Regions from separate parts of the Homo sapiens genome. Here regions 1, 2, 3, 4, 5 and 7 are each linked to region 6. The links are contacts of gene promoters, found by promoter capture Hi-C in blood cells and fetal thymus (Javierre and others, 2016). All regions are on one chromosome and are shown on one strand. The core of a region is centred on a gene start or on the middle of the fragment in contact, and the rest is flanking DNA. Distances in the headings are between cores, read along the strand shown.

What was found. The method cuts DNA at HindIII sites, captures the fragments that hold promoters and counts their contacts. A CHiCAGO score of 5 or more calls a contact.
Region 1: a contact is called between a fragment that was not itself captured here and the fragment with the promoter of NCR2 in region 6, in 1 of 17 cell types (fetal thymus). The highest score is 5.2, in fetal thymus.
Region 2: a contact is called between a fragment that was not itself captured here and the fragment with the promoter of NCR2 in region 6, in 1 of 17 cell types (neutrophils). The highest score is 8.6, in neutrophils.
Region 3: a contact is called between a fragment that was not itself captured here and the fragment with the promoter of NCR2 in region 6, in 1 of 17 cell types (neutrophils). The highest score is 10.8, in neutrophils.
Region 4: a contact is called between a fragment that was not itself captured here and the fragment with the promoter of NCR2 in region 6, in 2 of 17 cell types (M1 macrophages and fetal thymus). The highest score is 5.8, in M1 macrophages.
Region 5: a contact is called between a fragment that was not itself captured here and the fragment with the promoter of NCR2 in region 6, in 3 of 17 cell types (M1 macrophages, M0 macrophages and M2 macrophages). The highest score is 7.4, in M1 macrophages.
Region 7: a contact is called between a fragment that was not itself captured here and the fragment with the promoter of NCR2 in region 6, in 1 of 17 cell types (M1 macrophages). The highest score is 5.5, in M1 macrophages.

The regions. Positions count from the first base shown.
Region 1 is chr6:41,695,271-41,697,970 of GRCh38, reverse strand. All of the region lies in intron 1 of TFEB (transcription factor EB), which reads left to right. Among named protein-coding and RNA genes, the nearest start is that of MIR10398, 37 kb to the left of the region's middle. The HindIII fragment of the contact is 4,275 bases long and covers 1-2,700 here.
Region 2 is chr6:41,044,123-41,046,822 of GRCh38, reverse strand. It overlaps TSPO2 (translocator protein 2), which reads right to left. Exons shown (of 4, transcript NM_001010873.3): 4 at 2,486-2,700. The coding sequence ends at 2,686. Among named protein-coding and RNA genes, the nearest start is that of TSPO2, 3.0 kb to the right of the region's middle. The HindIII fragment of the contact is 2,285 bases long and covers 137-2,421 here.
Region 3 is chr6:40,993,986-40,996,685 of GRCh38, reverse strand. All of the region lies in intron 1 of LOC101929555 (a long non-coding RNA gene), which reads left to right. Among named protein-coding and RNA genes, the nearest start is that of UNC5CL, 44 kb to the left of the region's middle. The HindIII fragment of the contact is 2,512 bases long and covers 154-2,665 here.
Region 4 is chr6:41,607,505-41,610,286 of GRCh38, reverse strand. No RefSeq gene overlaps it. Among named protein-coding and RNA genes, the nearest start is that of MIR4641, 10 kb to the right of the region's middle. The HindIII fragment of the contact is 2,425 bases long and covers 267-2,691 here.
Region 5 is chr6:41,627,530-41,630,343 of GRCh38, reverse strand. No RefSeq gene overlaps it. Among named protein-coding and RNA genes, the nearest start is that of MDFI, 9.5 kb to the left of the region's middle. The HindIII fragment of the contact is 7,037 bases long and covers 1-2,814 here.
Region 6 is chr6:41,334,357-41,337,128 of GRCh38, reverse strand. NCR2 (natural cytotoxicity triggering receptor 2) reads right to left here and starts at 1,521. Exons shown (of 5, transcript NM_004828.4): 1 at 1,201-1,521; 2 at 701-1,042. The coding sequence starts at 1,252. The HindIII fragment of the contact is 13,900 bases long and covers 1-2,772 here.
Region 7 is chr6:41,667,714-41,670,429 of GRCh38, reverse strand. It overlaps the pseudogene NPM1P51. Among named protein-coding and RNA genes, the nearest start is that of MDFI, 31 kb to the right of the region's middle. The HindIII fragment of the contact is 7,923 bases long and covers 1-2,716 here.

The sequences.
Region 1 (2,700 bases), core at 146-2,645, 360 kb before region 6:
AAAATACTTATGGTTACATCATCCAAAGAAGTCAGTAATAATTTTGTATATTTCCTCCCAAGAGGTTTTTCTATACATATTTTTACATTGTGATGATCAGATTTTATATACAATTTCCCCCTACATCCTACATTTTGTCACCTGACATATCCTCATGTTATTTATTGTAAGTATAGCAGTCCATCAGGAGGGACACACCGTAATTTATTTAACTATCCTATAACTGGACATTGAGGTTAGTTTTGACTTTTTTCCATATAATGTGAAGTGCATCTTTATGCACAACATCCTTTTCTGCATCTATGATTACTTCCTTGGACTGGTGAATATTTTTCAAGGCTTTGACATATATTGCCAAATTGCTTTTCCAAAGAGGTTGTACCAAGGTATGCTCTGGCAGTTGTGTTGAAGGTGCCTGGTACCAAAGGCATTTTAAAGTCATAGACACACTTGGGGAAGGGGGGGGGTTTGGAGAAGGGGTGGTGTTGGTGAAGGTAGTTTCCCTAACTCTTCTTTTAAACTATTTAACGTCTGCCCTCATTCTTTTTTTTTTTTTTTTTTTGAGATGGAGTTTCACTCTTGTTGCCCAGGCTGGAGTGCAATGGTGTGATCTCAGTTCACTGCAACCTCTGCCTCCCGGGTTCAAGCAATTCTCCTGCCTCAGCCTCCCAAGCAGCTGGGCCTACAGGCATGTGCCACCACACCTGGCTAATTTTTGTATTTTTAGTAGAGACAGGGTTTCACCGTGTTGCCCAGGCTGGTCTTGAACTCCTGACCTCAAGTGATCTGGCTGCCTCGGCCTGCCAAAGTGCTGGGATTACAGGCGTGAGCCACCATGCCAGGCTGGTCTGCCCTCATTCTTATGTGATTTTAAAATGAGAATACAACACACATACAGAAAATTATAAGTTGTAAGGGAGCAGCTGTACAAATTATTGTAAATATGACACTCTCATGGCACCAACACCCATATCAAATTACAAAACTTTCCTAATCCTCTTACCCACCAAGCCATCTTGTGTCCCCTCCCAGACACTCCCCCAAGGGTAATTAGGATCCTGAGTTCTAACATAGTAGATTAATGTTGCGTTTTTTTGAACTCATATACGCAGAGCATGCTGTATACACTTTTGTGCCTTGGTTCTTTCGTTAACATTATGTCTGCGAGAGTCATCTATGTCATGTGTAACAACAGTGCATTTGCTGTCATTGCTTTGTAGCATTTGATTGTATGGATGTACCACCACTTCAATTTATTTTATTTATTTATTTTTTTTGAGATGGAGTCTCACTCTGTCACCCAGGCTAGAGTGCAGTGGCATGATCTCGGCTCACTGCAACCTCTGCCTCCCGGGTTCAAGCGATTCTTCTGTCTCAGCCTCCCGAGTAGCTGGGACTACAGGTGCACACCACCACGCCCGGCTAATTTTTGTATTTTTTAATAGAGATGGGGTTTCACCACGTTGGCCAGGCTGGCTTCGAACTCCTGACCTCAAGTGATCTGCCCGCCTCAGCCTCCCAAAGTGCTGGGATTACAGGTGTGAACCACCATGCCTGGCCCACCACTTCTTTATCTATCTTTCTTTAGTGGACATTTGGGTGGTTTCCAGTTTTGGTTCCTATACACGCAAACATTCTAGTATATGTGCTTTGGTGAACACGTGGATGCTTTTCTGGTGGGCATGCATAGGAGGGGGTCCATGGGTCATGGAGTGTGTTTTCAGCTTCCTGCTCCAAGTTTTAAAGGATCATTTAGAGGGCAGAAAAATCCCCAAGGCAGTTCAGGCCTCACAAGCCACTGAATGGACTGGCGTCAGCTGACAATAGTTTGAGGGCACTGCATGAAGATGGTACTCCCCTCAGAAGCCCTTGTCTGGGGCTGTGGTAGAAACTGAGTGGGGCCCTGGCCCTCCAGCTCCAAATGCTTGGTGGCTGCTGGCCCTGGCTCTGTGCCTCTGCTGGCCACTCGGTGTCCTCACCCAGGGACCGCGGCTGGCCTAATGACCACTGCACCGAGCAGGGCAGGGCTTGGGCCAGCCCAGGTGGAGCTGGGGGGATTCCTTCCCCTTGGCGACCCACCTTTGGACATGACTGGAAGCCCTGGAAGCAGGTTGGGCCCCCCCATAAACCCCCAGAAGCTGCTGTGCTTCCTTTCTCCTGTTAACAGAATCACACAAGTCGCACATATTCCCACTGTAAGAGCTGAGTGCTTCTCCAGTGGAACGAAGAACTATAAAAATCCCTCTTTATCCCTCCCCCTCCATTGCCCCTTCCCACTCCCCTCCCCAGCGGTAACAACTCTGAACAGTTTGGGGTGCTGGGAGAGCCCAGAATAGTAGTTAAAGAGTGGGGGCTGTGAGCCAGCCTGCCTGGATCAAATCTCCATTCTGCTACTTAATCAGCTGTGTAACCTTGAGTGAGTTCCTTCACCTCTCTGTGCCTCTGTTTCCTCCAGGAAAAATGGGGATAATACTAGTACTCAGCTCATTGGGTTGTTGGGAAGAAAAAACAGAATTAACATTAGGAAAAGCACATTGACCAGCCCTGACCCATGGCAATCATTCACGAAGCATTTAGCGGTTGGTACTCTGATCTTCCTGTTGTCTACACATATACCATTTCATGATTCATGGGCTGGTTCATACTAAGGTGTAAATGACTGACAGGCAAGGCCCACACACAGACTGGATGAAACCAGCT
Region 2 (2,700 bases), core at 30-2,529, 290 kb after region 6:
GGATAAGAGTTTGGAGTTGGGATTCTGCCCTTTCATGCTGAGTTTCTGCACATGGCCAAAAATCTCTTTAGCTTGGCTCATGCTGTATCAGGCGGTCGTGCTAGCCCAGGGCTTGGGACACTGCCCAAATTAAGCTTTCTTCTAGGGCTAAGTCCTAAGCTAGAGGCATGGGTTAGTGGCTCCAGCTTGCCTTGGGGAGGTCAAAGTAATACCCTAGGCATCATACATCTTCTTGGAGGTTCCACCTAACTTCTAGAATTAGCTGGTAATGAATAAAATTGGTAGCAAATATTACAATGCATATATTATTATGAGATGATAATAATGATAATGGAAGATAATGTCTGGGGTGCCCACTTGCCAAGATCACACAATGGTGGTAGAGCTGGGTAAGAACCCATGTATTTTGGGTTCCGAGCCTATCCTCTGTCCATCAGTATTTATAGCTAGAAGTTGCACCAGGTTACCAGTTAATAGATAACAGAGTCAATATCCAACCCCAGGTTGGTCTGACTCCATGGCCAGAACTGCAAATCACCATACCCTATTGCTCTCACTCCCCAAGATGACCTGATTTCATGGGTCTGGAGTCCCAACAAGTGTCTCAGGAGGTCTCTGGGGCACACTTTGAGAAGCAGTAAGAAGCAATACCCTGCAGCAGCACATCTCAGTTTGGCTGCACATTAGAACCAGGAGTTTCCAAAATGATTAAAGCCTTTCCCTTCTTTTTTCAGTTGTTCCAGAGTAGGGGTGGGGGTAGGGGTGGCGGCAGGTGCTGGTCAGCATTTGTTTTTAAAGTACAACAATGTGTTCATTTATTCGTTCAATTAATCAACAAATAAAAACGTACAAGCACCTACTCTGTGCTCTGCCCTGTCCTGGGGCTGGAGATACAAAGGTGGGTGGGACACTGTGTGTGTCCTCCTGGGGTGCCTGTGACCTGACCCACTGGGCTGAGCATGCCCTTGGTGGAGGAGGGGAGGCTGCAGACTCCCTCTCTTGGGTGAGCTCTGGAAAGAGCCACTCCTCTTCTCAAATTATGCTGCCTTACTGGCTTCTCACCTGAGAGCATACAGTTTGTTTCAGCTCTAAAACTCAGCTCACAAAACCTCAGAGTGTCAAGGCTAAACGGGCCCTGATAAACGATCTGTGCCCAAAGCACTCAAACTAGCTAGCAGCTGACAGAAGTGCTCAGGAGGTTTTAAATCTGAAGATGCCAAGAGCCCACCCGCAACGTTCTCATTTATGGGTCCTGAGTGCGGTCTGAGGAACATGCATTTTTTTAAATAGCTCCAAACAGCTGTGGTACAGCCTTGGCTGCACCTGAGGAGGTCTTGGGAAGTTTTAAAAATGTTGATGCCCAGGCCTCCTTCCTGGAGAGGCTGATGAGGATTTTTAAACAATTCTGGTGATCCCCATCATGCAGCAGGTGGAGACCCCCTACTGCAAGGTGTCTGGGCCTTCCAGCTGACCTTGTTAAAGATTTGAGGAGGCTTACTCAAGGGCGGTCACTCCTTGCCACCATCAGGGCTTTGAAACAAGGACAGAAGAAAATCAGAGAAGGGAGGAGTCAAAAATTAAAAAGCCACTAAGAAGGTTTAGAAAAAGAGAAGCAAGATAGAAGGCTGAACAAGAAGCTCCTATGGATTCACCTGTCAGCACCCTGAGGCTTAATCTCTTTTTTTCAATCTTCTTTGCCTTATTCTAATAGTAATTAATTGATGTAAAATAAGGAAAGCATAGGAATGTATGAAAGCAAAAAAGAAGGTCTATAATCTTATTTATCAGAGATGTATAACATATATATCATACAACCATAGTATATGTTATAACTAGATATTGCATCATAAATCTGATATATAAATTAATGTATAATATATACTATATAACCTTAACATGTATAATTAGTATCCCCCCCTTTTTTTTTGAGATGGAGTCTCACTCTGTCACCCAGGCTGGAGTGCAGTGGCATGATCTCGGCTCACTGCAACCTCCTCTTCCCCGGGTTCAAGTGATTCTCCTGCCTCAGCTTCCTGAGTAGCTAGGACTACAGGTACTCACCACTGCACCCAGCTAATGTTTGTATTTTTGGAGGCAGGGTTTCACCATGTTGGCCAGGCTGGTCTCGAACTCCTGACCTCATGATCCACCCGCCTTGGCCTCCCAAAGTGCTGGGATTACAGGTGTGAGCCACCACTCCTGGCCCCCTAGTACCCTTTTTTAAGGTGTATTTTTCTGTTTTGGCTTTTTTGTCACTTTTAAAAAGCCTTTTGTTTTTCAGGTAATTAAACATCTGAGTGCTAAATCTTTATGCCAGGTGGGGAGGCATGTGAATGGAGGCGAGCTGGTGTGCCCACCCCTCCCCCATGGGCCTTCACACATTCATTCACGCGCACACACTCACACAGAGGTCCAGAAGCTTCTATCCCACTCTGCCGCCCTAGTCATCATATTATGCATTCAAATACACACTTCACATCATACCTTCAGAGTTACTAATAGGATTTTATTATTTAAGTGTAAAATCAGTTTCCCCCCCTTTCCCATTTCTCTGATTTCTAAGGAAAAACGGCACCAGGGGACCCAGGAGGGTGGTCCCATTGGGGTGAACCCTAACTCCACAGCCCTGCTTGCAGACTCTTCCTCCCCACCCTGGGCGTCCCTCCTCTCCCATGCCCTAGGGCCTCAGTCACTCTTCTC
Region 3 (2,700 bases), core at 160-2,659, 340 kb after region 6:
GGCTACCTCTCTCCACCTTCAGCACATGTGCTGCAAGTCACACACTCCTGGCATTGGTCACCTGGGGGAAGGGAGCCCAAGAATATTAGCCAACATGAGAGTTTACTAGTTCTTCAGGTTGTCTATGACGATGTAAAAAACTGCTCCAAAGCTTTGTGGCATGAAACAACCACTATTTTATTGTGATCCCAAATTCTGTGGGTCAGAAGTTAGAAAAAAGCACAGAGGTGGATCTTTCAGGGGAGGACTGGAATGGGGGTGCTTTCAACCACTGGGGGCTGGAGGATCCACTTCCAATAGTTTTTTCACTCATATGTCTGGCAGCTGGGCTGGGCTGGCTTACGGGTGGGCTCAGCTGAGAGAGCATGGAGTTCTCAGGATTGTTAGACTTTTTTTTTTTTTTTTGAGACAGAGCAAGGCTGGAGTGCAGTGTTTTAATCTTGGTTCACTGCAACCTCCGCCTCCGGGATTCAAGAGATCCTTCCACCTCAGCTCCGGAGTAAGTAGGATTACAGGTGTGCACCACCATATCCTGCTAATTTTTTTGTATCTTTAGTAGAGACAGGGTTTCACCATGCTGGCCAGGCTGGTCTTGAACTCCGGACCTCCGAGGTGATCCACCCACCTCGGCCTCCCAAAGTGCTGGGATTACAGGCGTGAGCCACAGCACCCAACCCATTGGACTTCTTACATGAAGGCTCTGAGAGAAAATAAATGTCCTTTGAGAGCTAGGCTGAAGCTGTATGGCCTTCTATGCACCCTGCCTTGGAAGTTACATAGCATTCATTCCAAATGTACTATTGGTGGGAGGTGCCAAGGACCCATTCAAATAAAAAGTAGGGGACAAGGTCTGCTGTGGTGGCTCACAGCTGTAATCTAAGCACTTTGGTAGGCTGAGGTGGGCGGATCACCTGAGGTTGCCAGTTTGAGACCAGCCTGACCAACATGGAGAAACCTCATCTCTACTAAAAATACAAAGTTAACTGGGTGTGATGGCACATGCCTGTAATCCCAGCTACTTGGGAGGCTGAGGCAGGAGAATCGCTTGAACCTGGGAAGTGGAGGTTGCGGTGAGCTGAGGTTGTGCCATTGCACTCCAGCCTGGGCAACAAGAGCGAGACTCCGTCTCAAAAAAAAAAAAAAAAAAAAAGAAAAAGAAAGTAGGGGACATAGATCTACCTCTTGATGGAAGGAGGATAAAAATATTTGCAGTCATGCTTAAAACACCACACAGGAAAAAAAGAGTAGTCTCAGGCCAGGACTTGTACATTTTAGACTGACTCTGCCTCTCACTGGCTGTGTGACCCCAGGATTAGGTGCTTCTCCTCTCTGGGCTCTGGTCTCTTCATCTATAAAAGGAGGGCTTCACCAGGTTAATCTACATTCCCTTCTAATGAGGCGCAGCAGCATAGCACATGCTCCGTAATGACCTATTGATGAGGAGAGAGCTGAATTTTAACTGTAGGAAGGATCTCCAATGGAATCATGTGGATCATTAAGTAAAATAGGAGTTTTTGAATTTTCACACTGAAAGAAACTTGAGGAAATATAGTCTGGCTCCCTTGTTTTATAAATGGGGAAATTGAGATCTAGAGAAGCTACAGGTCTTGCCCAAGTTCTGGAAGTAAGTTAATGAGGGCTATTAAAGAATAGAAGCTGGAGGCCAGGGCGCGGTGGCTCAGGTCTGTAATCCCACCACTTTGGGAGGCCGAGGTGGGTGGATCATGAGGTCAGGAGTTCAAGACCAGCCTGGCCAAGATGGTGAAACTCCGTCTCTACTTAAGAAAAAAAAAAACCCACAAAATTTAGCTGGTTGTGGTGGTGGGCACCTGTAATCCCAGCTACTTGGGAGGCTGAGGCAGGGAATTGCTTGAACCCTGGAGGTGGAGGTTGCAGTGAGCCGAGATTGCACCACTGCACTCCAGCCTGGGCAACAGAGCGAGACTCCATCTCAAGAAGAATAGAACCTGGGTCTCTGAACCACACATCCTGTGTGCCTGACCCTCCTGATATTCCATTTGGAATTTCATTCAAACATCCACTTCCAGGAAGGCATCTCTTACATAAATTGAAGGATATCTGTAAAAAGCCATCTGGAAATTTTCCCTGTGTCCAACCTAAGAAGTTAATTGGGCTTGAGGGTGTGTTGGCCAGATCTGGCTGTTTCGCTGGACCTTGCTCAGGACTGGAGCAGGATGACAATGGAGCTGTGAGACTGATAGGGAAGAGGTGTTTGCTTCTGCTTTGGGTCCTATTTTTTTCATGCCGACCATGTTCAGAAATGGCTCTTGTGCATACATAATATGGTGACTGAGTTAAATAATAAATGATAAGAGAGGCCATGGGAGGTGGGAAAGCAAAGGCAAGGGAGAAGGAATCTGATTTCAGCTGAAATTGGAAAGGACAGTGAGCTGCTGAGAGAAGGAGACGAGATAGAAAGGCAGAAGAGCCCAGAAGTAACGAGAACAAGAAAAGAGTTGGTGAAAGGAGCTGCGTGACTTATTTAAGGTCCCAGGAAGGCTGAGAGCTAGAGGGGCTGAAGGGAAGGGCAAACTGAGTGTGGAAATATAGGCATGTCATTGGGTACTGGAACAAGTGGGAGGTCCTGAAGTCCCATTTAGTGCTAGGGAATAAAGCAACAAAATAGACAGTAGGCCATGAAGCTTTGGTTCCTCATGATAAATGGGCTTTTCCAGAGCT
Region 4 (2,782 bases), core at 230-2,729, 270 kb before region 6:
AATCTATGTCTCTGGGCCTAATTCTCCTACCATGACTGCTGGACACGGGCACTCTGAACAGATCAGCTCCTTTCAGACGCTGTGCCCTTCACGTGCTGTCCTCTCTGCTCAGGCACCTCTCAACATCCAGCTCAAGTGCTTCCCTGGTGTGAAGTTTCCCAGGTTACCCCAGGGAAGTTGCACACATCCTTTTCTGGGTTCCCATCCCCAAACTGAATGTTGTATTGTCATTCTTCTGCTTATATATCTGTCTATATCTATAAGCTTCATATATATATATGTCATTCTTCTGCTTATATATGTATCTGTTTGGAGTTCTTTGAGGAGACAGACTGTGTCTTATTCATCTTGTACTTTCAGAGCTCAGCTTGGTGCCTTGTATGCAGAAAGTTCTCAATAAATTTTGAATGTATGAATGATTAACCTCGGTTATACTTCATAATTTGTTGCTTTCTATTCTTTTCTATGCAGCTGCCTTCTCTGTCACCATATTAATAACAATTTTTATGGGAAAGACTTTTGTAAAATTAAACTCCTTGGGAGTGTCATAAGAAGACCCTTTTCTATATGGGGAGTGCTTACAGCAGAAGGGAGTCAAGCATATTCTTTTGTATGGGGCCTTATCTTGACTTATTTTACTTCTTTACATATCGGTGTTATTTTCTTTCTTTCTTTTTTTTTTTAATTTTTAAATTTTTTTAGACGGAGTCTTGCTCTGTCGGCCAGCTGATTCTCCTGCCTCAGCCTCCCCAGTAGCTGGGATTACAGGTGCCTGCCACCACATCTAATTTTTTTAAATATTTTTTTTTTAGTAGAGATAGGGTTTGGCCATGTTGGTCAGGCTGGTTTTGAACTCCTGACCTCAAGTGATCCGCCTGCCTCGGCCTCCCAATGTGCTAGGATTACATGTGTGAGCCACTGCGCCCGGACAACCTATCAGTGTTCTTTTTCCAGCTGCTCTGTTAGCCCCTCAGGGTAGGGCCTGTGCCTACTCATTGCTTTCCATATTACCTGTAACACCCAGCCCCAGGCTGGGTGTAGAATCGATGCTCAATAAAGGTTTGTGGATTGACTGGGTGCGCTCTGGGATAGGGAAAGATACACACGTCAGTTTGGGGTGATTCTCCAATGCGGAAGCAAAGTCAGGAAGCTGGGGGTGGGTCGTGGCAAAGGTGTGACAGCTGAGGACCAGAGCGGGTTGTGGGAGAGGGCACCCGGGGACAGCCAATGACAGCTGAGCAGTCTTTGCAAAGCAGGAAGCAAGAGAAGGATGAGGAAGGAATTCCACGGAAGAAGTAGGAGAGAAACTTGTGTGAATGGTGTAGTGGTTGGGTGGGGGTGGCGACTGCAATAGAGGAGGGGTGCAGGGAGGTGAGAAGGCTCCTGGGGTGAAGGCCTTAGCAGGTCTAACAGGCAGGCCAGCCCTGTGTTCCCTGCCACCTCCCTTGCCTCCTGTTCACACAGGTGCTCCACACTGCGGCCCATCTGCCAGAGCCGCCTTTGTCTTAACTATTGAGGAGCCCCTGAACCGCCTCATACCCTCCTTCAGTGTCACCAAGCCCAGGCCTCTGCTTGGGGATGGGATTCCCACCCGCTCTTGACTTCCCACTGCCAGCTGTGAGTCCCATGACTGTTTCTAGGCTGCCCTTCCCAGAAGGGGTCCCCTGTTCCTGAGTTCTCGGGGAGATAACAAGGAAGGAGACATCAGAACCAGGGGAACTGCTGAGTCTGCTGGAGAAGGGCTGGCTCATGTATGCACTCATAAAGAGGTATATAATCTGAGCCCATTCTGCCTTTTCCCTTGCTTTTTTTTTTTTTTTAATTGAGACAGAGTCTCGCTCTGTCTGCAACCTATGCTGCCTGAGTTCAAGTTATTCTCATGCCTCAGCCTCCCGAGTAGCTGGGACTAGAGGCGCACACCACCATGCCAGGCTTTTTTTTTTTTTTTTGTATTTTTAGTAGAGACAGGGTTTCGCCATGTTGGCCAGACTGGTCTCGAACTCCTGACCTCAAGTGATCCACCCGCCTCAGCCTCCCAAAGTGCTGGGATTACAGGCATGAGCCATCATACCCGGCCCCATGCTCCTTAAAAATACACTGAGGCACATATAACCATCACTGCTGAGAAAATTAATAATAAAACATTTTCTTGACATTCCTTGGCTATGTCCCACCTCCTCTCAACCTCTGGGGGTCTCCTCTCTCTCTCCCTTTGCTGCTTACTAAACTCACTGAAAGAGAGACGTACACCTGTGCCTCTACTTGCCCTCCACATACAGACTCCCTAACCCAGGAGTCCCCAACCCCCAGGCCGTGGACCTGCTCCGTGGCCTGCTAGGAACTGGGCCGCACAGCAGGAGGGGAGCGGCTGACAAGGGAGCATAACCACCCGAGCTCCGCCTCTGTCAGCTCAGCGGTGGCACTAGATTCTCACAGGAGTGTGAAGTCTATTGTGACCTGTGCATGCAAGGGATCTAGACTGTGTGCTCCTTATGAGAATCTAATGGCTGATGATCTGAAGTGGAACAGTTTCATCCCGAAACTATCCCCTCACCCCCACCCTGGTCCATGGAAAAATTGTCTTCCACGAAACCAGTCCCTGGTGCCAAAAAGGTTGGGGACCGCTGCCCTAACCCACCATTCTGCCCTCACTCTTCTTAGAAACTATTCTGTCCTAGGGCATCAGAAGCTTCCAGTTGCCAAGTCCATGGAAGCAGCTCCCAGGCCTCGAATTTTGGGAACCCTTTGGCCTCTGTCACAGTGAACCCTCAGGACTGCCCTC
Region 5 (2,814 bases), core at 173-2,672, 290 kb before region 6:
GCATGCAGCTGCCATGACATGTCCTGCTGGCCAGCCTCAGAAAGGTCTTGGGTGAGGACAGGGCTGACTTGGCAGCTGCCCACTCCCTGCCATACCTCTGGGATCTGGCTGCCCCAAGCAAACTATAAGCCATGACGTTGATGCCTTTTTCACGTTTCCATGTGCTCTTGGAGCTGAGGGCAAGAAGGGGTGACTCAGCCGTGACCTCCTATGGGCTGGTAACTTCATTCTGCTCCAAGAAATAGGACATCCCGGTGGCTCTGCCAAAAGGGCCATGATGGAAATCAGGGCGTAGCAACTGAGGCAGGGACTGAGAGACAGGCACGAGGCCCGTGCTGGCCCCTCCCTCCTCAGTTCCCCAGGGTGGAGCGCTCAGTGGCAGAGTCACCGCTATACCTATACTTACGGCGACCATATTTCCCAAACCAAAAGTTCTTACATGTGGTTAGACACATATGACTGTCCCTATGAGGGAAATGGGAGAGAGAATTAGACATAGTGTCTATCCTAAGGTTTTTCAACCTCAGCACTATTGACATTTTCGGGCTGGATGATTCTTTGTTGAGGGCTGTCCTGCTCATTGTAGGATATTTAGCAGCATTCATGGCTGCTACCCACCAGATGCCAGTAACACCCCCAACCCCCAGTCATGAAACCAAAAACGCCTCCACTAGACATTGCCAAATGTCCCCTGGCCTTGGGGGGAGGCAGGGGTTCAAAAGCACTCCTGATTGAGAAGTACTGGTCTGTTCTTGAAACCCAGCGTGTATTCTATTCTGGACTGTCTAGGGGCCTGGAGATGGTGCCCAGTCTGATAGAGAAATATGGCCCTTGTCCCTCAAGGGAGACAGGCACAGTCCTGTCTCTAGTCTAAGGGTAGAGGTAGAGTCCTGCCCTTGGGGAACTCCTGAGCTAATGGGGGAGATTGGACAGTAGTCCCTAGACAGGTTGAAAACACAGTGGTCAAGAGCATGGACTTTGGTGCCAGAATGCCTGAATTCAAATCCTGGGTCTGCCATTCATAGCATAAGTTACCTCTTTGTGCCTCAGTTTCTTTATCTGTAAAATGGGCATAGTGATAGCATCTTTTTTTTTTTTTTTTTTTTTTGAGCCAGAGTCTCCCTCTGTTGCCCAGGCTGGAGTGCAATGGCGCAATGGCGGCTCACTGCAACCTCTGCCTCCTGGGCTCAAGTGATTCTCCTGCCTCAGCCTCCTGAGTAGCTGGGATTACAGGCGTGCGCCACCACGCCTGGCTAATTTTTGTATTTTTGGTAGAGATGGGGTTTCACCATGTTGGTCAGGCTGGTCTTGAATTTCTGACCTTGTGATCTGTCCGCTTCGGCCTCCCAAAGTGCTGGGATTACAGGCGTGAGCCACCCCACGCAGCCGATAGCATCTGTTTTTAGAATTTTATTACATTTAAAACTTTTTGTAACAAACTTTATTTTTTAGGACACTTTTAGATTTACAGAAAAATTAAGAAGTACAGAGTTCCCATCTATGTTACTGCCAGTTTTCCCAATTATTGACATTTGTTTCAATTAACGAACCAATATTGATACATTATTAGTATTGTTTTAAAGCCCCTAGTTAATTCATATTTTCTTAGTTTTTACTTGATGTTCTTTTTCTATGTCAGGCTCCCATTCAGGACATCACATCATATTTAGTTGTCATGTCTCCTTACGCTGCTGTTGGCTGTGACAGCTTCTTAGACTTTTCTTACTTTTGATGACCTTGAGAGCTTTGAGGAGCACTGGGCAGGTATACTGCAGGATGTCCTTCTGTTGGAATTTGCCTGATGCGTTTCTCATGATTAGACTGGGCTTATGGGTTTCTGGGAGGAAGACCACAGAGGTAAAGTACAATAGTCATGGGCCAGGCACGGTGACTCACACCTGTAATGCCAGCACTTTGGGAGGCTGAGGCGGGCGGATCATGAGGTCAGGAGTTCGAGACCAGCCTGGACAACATAGCCGGGTGTGGTGGCATGGACCTGTAGTCCCAGCTACTCAGGAGGCTGAGGCAGGAGAATCACTTGAACCCGGGAGGCAGAGGTTGCAGTGAGCTGAGATCGCGCTACTGCACTCCAGCCTGGGTGACAGAGTGAGACTCCGTCTCAAAAACGACAACAACAGAAAACAATAGTCATCAAATCATATCAATAGCACATCCTACGAACCATGACTTATAACCACTGATGTTAACCTTGGTCACTTGGCTGAGATCGTGTTTATCAGGTTTCTCCACAGTCAAGTTACCCCTCTCCTCTCCAAACTGTACTCTTTGGAAGGAAGTCACTATGTGCAGCCTATGCTTAAGGAGTCGGGAGCTCAGAGGGTTTTGGGGCATGTTGAATAAGGTTAGAAATGTAAAGTCCTTAGGGCAGTGCCTGCTGTGTGGCAAGCCCTATATAATGATTTACTGTTAGTGTGATGATGCCGAGACAGTCTGGAGGGGAGATCAGTGTCCACATAGAAAACATGCTTAGGACAGCTTGATAGATAGTGTACTGCATTAGGCCAAAGATGCCCCAGGAGTTTATGAGTATGTTACCATACAGGGCAAGAGGGACTTTGTAGATGTGATGAAGGGCGTGGAACCTTGAAATGGGAAGATTAGCCTGGATTATCCAGGTAGGCCAATCTCATCACATAAATCTTTAAAAGTGGAGAGCCTTGCCGGGCGCGGTGGCTCACGCCTGTAATCCCAGGACTTTGGGAGGCCGAGGTGGGTGGATCATGAGGTTAGGAGATCGAGACCATCCTGGTTAACATGGTGAAACCCCGTCTCTGCTAAAAAATAGAAAAAGTT
Region 6 (2,772 bases), core at 272-2,771:
CACAGGAACTGTGGGTAGCTCTGCTCTGAGCAGGAGTTTGGCACACTTTCTGTAAAGGGTCAGGGATGAGCCATGTGGTCTCTGTCACAGCTGCTCAATTTTGCTGTCACAGCATGAAAAGGGCCACAGACAATAGGTAATTGAGTGGGCATGGCTGTGTTCCAAAAAATAACTCCACTTATAGGCACTGAAATTTGAATTTCCTGTATGTCACAAAATATTGTTTTTCTTTTGATTTTTTTTCACTCATTCTTAGTTTTTTTCACTCATTCTTAGTCCCCGATCTGGACTATGAGGGATACCCATAGTATCTTGGTATCTAGACTACCCAGATACCACTGGCTCTACATGGTGGGGGCAGCCAGTGGATGCACCTTTCCTGGGCACCTACTATGTACCAAAGATGCCGGGTGGTCCTGCCCTCCTGTAGCAGGGTCATATAGGCTGACTGGTCAGCATGCTCACCGGGTCTGTTTCAGCATCTCTCAGGAGGCCCAGGCTGCAGGCTTGGGAGTCATGCAGACTGTGAGATGGCTGCTCTTGTGCACATATGAGTTCCCCCTGCACCTGTTCCCAACAGCCTTCCCAGGAGACTGGGGCGTGGGCATGGGTGGCTTCCACGATTGGGAAACCAGGGGTGATGGAGGCACCAAAAGGGGGTGAGGGGCACCCCTCTGAGGACCCTAGGGAAAGAGCTCACCTGGAGATACCACCAGATAGAATCTGACGGACTTAGAGACAGAGTTGTCAGAAGGGCGGTAGATTCTACACCAGTAATGTCCTGAGTCTTCCTCTCTCAGATCAGTCATGGTGACAGTGAAGAAGCCAGCATCAGGGTCGTCCCAGATTGTGAATCGAGAGGTCCAAGCCATCGTCCTGGGCTTGGAGCTGGTGACTAACCTGATGCACACAAGTGCTGAAGCCTCCTTACACCAGCCTTTCTTCTCGTAGAGACTGCCCGTGGGCGGGTACTGGCATCTCACGGTTAGCGTCTGCCCTGCCACACTTTGAAGTACCTGAGCCTTGGATTGTGCCTGAGAGCCTGGAGAATGATGAAGTAACGCATAGGTCAAGGCCACGCGCACAACCTGCCTCACAGCAGGCCTCTGGCCACAGAGCCACCTGCTCCCTGACCCTGCTGTCCTGACAGTCCCCACCACACCCATCTCCTCTGCTCCCTGGGCTCCTCCTCCCCCTCACCTGGGAACAGCAGCAGCAGCAGTAGCAGTGGGTGTAGGGCTCGCCAGGCCATGTGGTCCTTTTCCTGTGCGCTCATGGGAGGGGACACCTGGAGAAGACTGGGGAGAGGGAATTGGGAGCTGGGCCTGATTCTGCTGCTCTTCCAGCACGTCTGATAGAAAAATGAGACAGGCTGAGGCCTGGGTTGGGGAGATGGGAGACTGCAAAGGGCAGATTCTGTGGGCACAGGGAAGTGGGGATCTCCAGCTGTAGGTGAGTCTGGGTCTGGTGGGCTCGGCGCTGTCTGGCACACAGCTTCCCAGGCCTCTGTAGAAGATGCCTGCTCTCCCCTGTGCCCAGCTGCCCCTCCCCACCATGACCTACCCCTGAGGGAGGAGCTGAAAAGGCCAGGAGGAAACTGTGGGCGAGTTATGGACTGCTTCCCCCTTGCTCCCTCTGTGTGCTGCCTCTCTTCTTTGCAGGGCCCTAGCTTTGCCGCCCTTTCCAGGGAAAGGCAGGCTGAGGGTGGATGACAAACTCAGGGGCACTTGGAACCCTGATCACAAGCCCCAAGCCTCACTGGTCACAGGATGGCCAGGGACGTCATGCCCAGGCCTCCATGGTGGGTCAGTGATGTGCTTCCACTCTGGGAGTTTCGTGGGTGCGGGAAAGGAGAGGGGAGAGGAGGTGGAGATTCAAAACCAGCAAGGGAGGCTAGGGAGGGTCCCTGGCAAAGGTCGGGGAGGGGAGGGTGGGAAGAGCACACGGAGCATGGGATGCATCAGTGGGGTGGGGTAGAGGGAGCCCAGGAACCAGGACCTGGCCTCATCTCTGCATCCTGGACCTCTGCCACTTAAGGACCCTGGAGAAATATTGTTTAATTAAAACATAAACAGATGAAAGACTCTAGCATATTTTTCTTTAGTTAATGTCAGCACTTTGAAGATTCAGTTTTAAAATACGATGCAATTTACAAAGAGAACGAGCTAATATATCTTAGGACTGGTAGAGACACTGTGTGTAATTGCAGTTGCACCACTGGGGGCTCTGCTGGACTGGCGATCTGCTGCCGGGAGCTCTGTGAACAGAGGTAATAACTGAGACGGGAATTGGAACTTGTCAAGTGGACTCGATTCCAAGTCCACTGCTTTGCCTGCCCCTGGACTCCTGCTCTCCACTCCATCTCAGTACACTGCCCTTCTCCTTACAGTAGGAGTATGCAGAGACTGAGAATGGGAAAGGCAGAGGGGTATGCAAAAGGAGGACACAGTAGGGCTATCAGATGTTGGCGCCCAAGGGCCCAAGGTGGGAAAGCAGGCTGGAGCTCCAGAGCTAGAAGACAGCTCAGGGAGCGATGCCCGCCACTCACTCACACAAGCATTATTTACAAAGCATTCTCATGCACACTTTCTCAAGACCCTCAGCAGGTTCGCGAGGGAGACATTACTTCTCTTTTTCACAGATGTGAGAACTGAGGCCCAGATATGGTCAGCCACCTGCTCAGAGTCACACAGGACCAGAACAGGCCTCCTGACTTCGGTCTGGAGCCTTCCGGCTGGTCTGGTTGAAATGCGACCCACAGACATGACAGGA
Region 7 (2,716 bases), core at 2-2,501, 330 kb before region 6:
GAGACCATCCTGGCTAACATGGTGAAACCCTGTCTCTGCTAAAAATACAAAAAATTAGCTGGGTGTGGTGGCACGTGCCTGTAATCCCAGGTGCTCGGGAGGCTGAGGCAGGAGAATTGCTTGAACCCAGGAGGCTGAGGTTGCAGTGAGCAGAGACAGCGCCATTGCACTCCAGACTGGGTGACAGAGCGAGACTCCATCTCAAAAACAAAACAAAACAAAACAAAACAAAACAAAACAAACAAACAAAAGAACTAAAAGAACTACCATTTGATCCAGGAGTCCCACTCCTGGGTATCTACCCAGAGGAAAAGAAGTCATTATACGAAAAATATACTTGGACACACATGTTTATAGAAGCACAATTCACAATTGCAAAAATGTGGAACCTGCCCAAATGCCCATCAGTAAACGAGTGGATAAAGAAACTGTGGCATATATATGATGGCATACTATTCACCCATAAAAAGGAATGAATTAATGGCATTTGCAGCAACCTGGAGGGATTGGAGATTATTATTCTAAGTGAAGTAACTCAGGAATGGAAAGCCAAACATTTTATGTTCTCACTTATAAGTGGGAGCTAAGCTATGAGGATGCAAAGGCATAAGAATGATACAATGGACTTTGGGGACTCTTGGGAAAGGGTGGGAAGGGGGTGAGGGATAGAAGACTAAAAATTGGTTCAGTGTATACTGCCTGGGTGATGGGTGCACCAGAATCTCACAAATCACCGCTAAAGAATTTACTCATGTAACCAAATACCACCTGTTCTCCAAAAACCTATGGAAATAAATTAAAAAAAAAGAACTAAAAACATGCTATGTACAGAAAGAAAGAAAGAAAAAAGTCTACTTCATAAAAAATAAAATGGCTTTATTGAGATATAAAGCCATTTATTGCACATATTTAAGTGTACAATTTGATAAGATTTGATGTATGTATCCACCCATGAAGCTATCACCACAGTCAAGATAGTGAACACATCCATTACCCCCAAAGGGTTCCTTATGATCCTTTGTGATCCCTCCCTTTTGTTTCTCCCTATCCCACCTCCAACCCCAGGCAACTACTGATGTGCTTTCTGTGCGATAGATTAGTTTGTACTGTTTAGAATTTCACAAAACTGGAATCATAGAGAACGCACCTATTTTTCTCTGGCTTCCTTTAGTAGGCATAATTAGTTTTGTCTGTGAATCTAATGAGATGCATAACTGAGACACATTCATGTTGTTGCATGTATCAGTATTTCTTTCCCTTTTAATGGCTGAGTAATATTCCATTGTATGGATATACCAGAATTTGTTTATTCATTCAAATTTAAAGACATTGGGTTGTTTAGAAGTTTGACTATTGTGAATAACACTGCTATGAACATTTGTCTACAAATATTTGTAGGGACAAGTGCTTTCATTTCTCTTCAGTAAATACCTAGGAGTAGAATGCCTGGGTCATGAGGTGGGTGTATGTTCAACTTTTTAAGAAATTGTTGGTCGGGCACGGTGGCTCACGCCTATAATCCCAGCACTTTGGGAGGCCAAGGCAGGTGGATCATGAGGTCAAGAGATCGAGACCATCCTGGCCAACATGGGGAAAACCCGTTCCCTAAAAATACAAAAAAAAAATTAGCTGGGCATGGTGGCACGAGCCTGTAGTCCCAGCTACTTGGGAGGCTGAGGCAGGAGAATCACTTGAACCTGGGAGGCGGAGGTTGCAGTGAGCCGAGATTGCGCCATTGCACTCCAGCCTGGCGACGGGGTGAGACTCCGTCTCAAAAAAAAAAAAAAAAGAAATTGCCAAAATGTTTTCAAAGTGATCATATCATTTTACATTCCCACTAACAATATATGAGAATTCCAATTCTTCCACAGCCTCAATAATATTTGGTGTGGTCAGTTTTTAATTTTGGCCATTCTAATAGATATATAGTGATATCTCATGGTGGGTTTAATTTTAATTTCCCTAATAACTAATGATGTCGAACATCTTTTCATATGTTTATTTGCCATCTGTATTTTTTCTTCGGGGAAGTGTCCAAATCTTTTGCCAGTTTTGTTGGGTTGCTTGTTTTCTTTATTGAGTTTTGAGAGTTCCTAATGCATTCTAGAAACAAATCTTTTATCAGATATCAAATCCTTTACCACTTTCCTGGTAAGGAGTTCAGAGAGCTCCTCCATTTTTCTCGCAGAGAAACTAATGCTAAGGGAAGGAAGTACATCAGTCAATACGTTTCCAGCTAAAAATAATAGAAAACCCAACTAAAGTGCTTAAGAATGATTCTATAACAGGATGTTCAGAGATAGTGTGGTTCCAGGGTTGGTTAATTCAGTGGTGAAGATGTCATAAGGAGTAGATAGTTTTCTTCTTTCCACTCTGGAGTCCTTGAGAGTTTGTCTTGACCTCTTAGACTGGCTACCTTCAATAGGCCCAAGGTGGCTCTTTTTTAAAAAAATTCATTCAAATAATATTTTTTTGAGCAGTTAAGGAGATACAAAGGTGATTTAAAACATGGCCAGAGGTGAGGCAAATGCACAAGTAATAGAAAGCAAAGGGCAAGTTTCACTGAATCACAGCAGTCAGAGAAAGTGCTTTTGGGAACCAAATTGTTTCCAGCCTGAAGAGCCATGGTGGCAAATCCAAAAAGGGGATTGAGATTAAAATAGAAGACTTCAGTCTGGATTGTTGGTGACACTCAGTATGGACTATATTTGTCTCT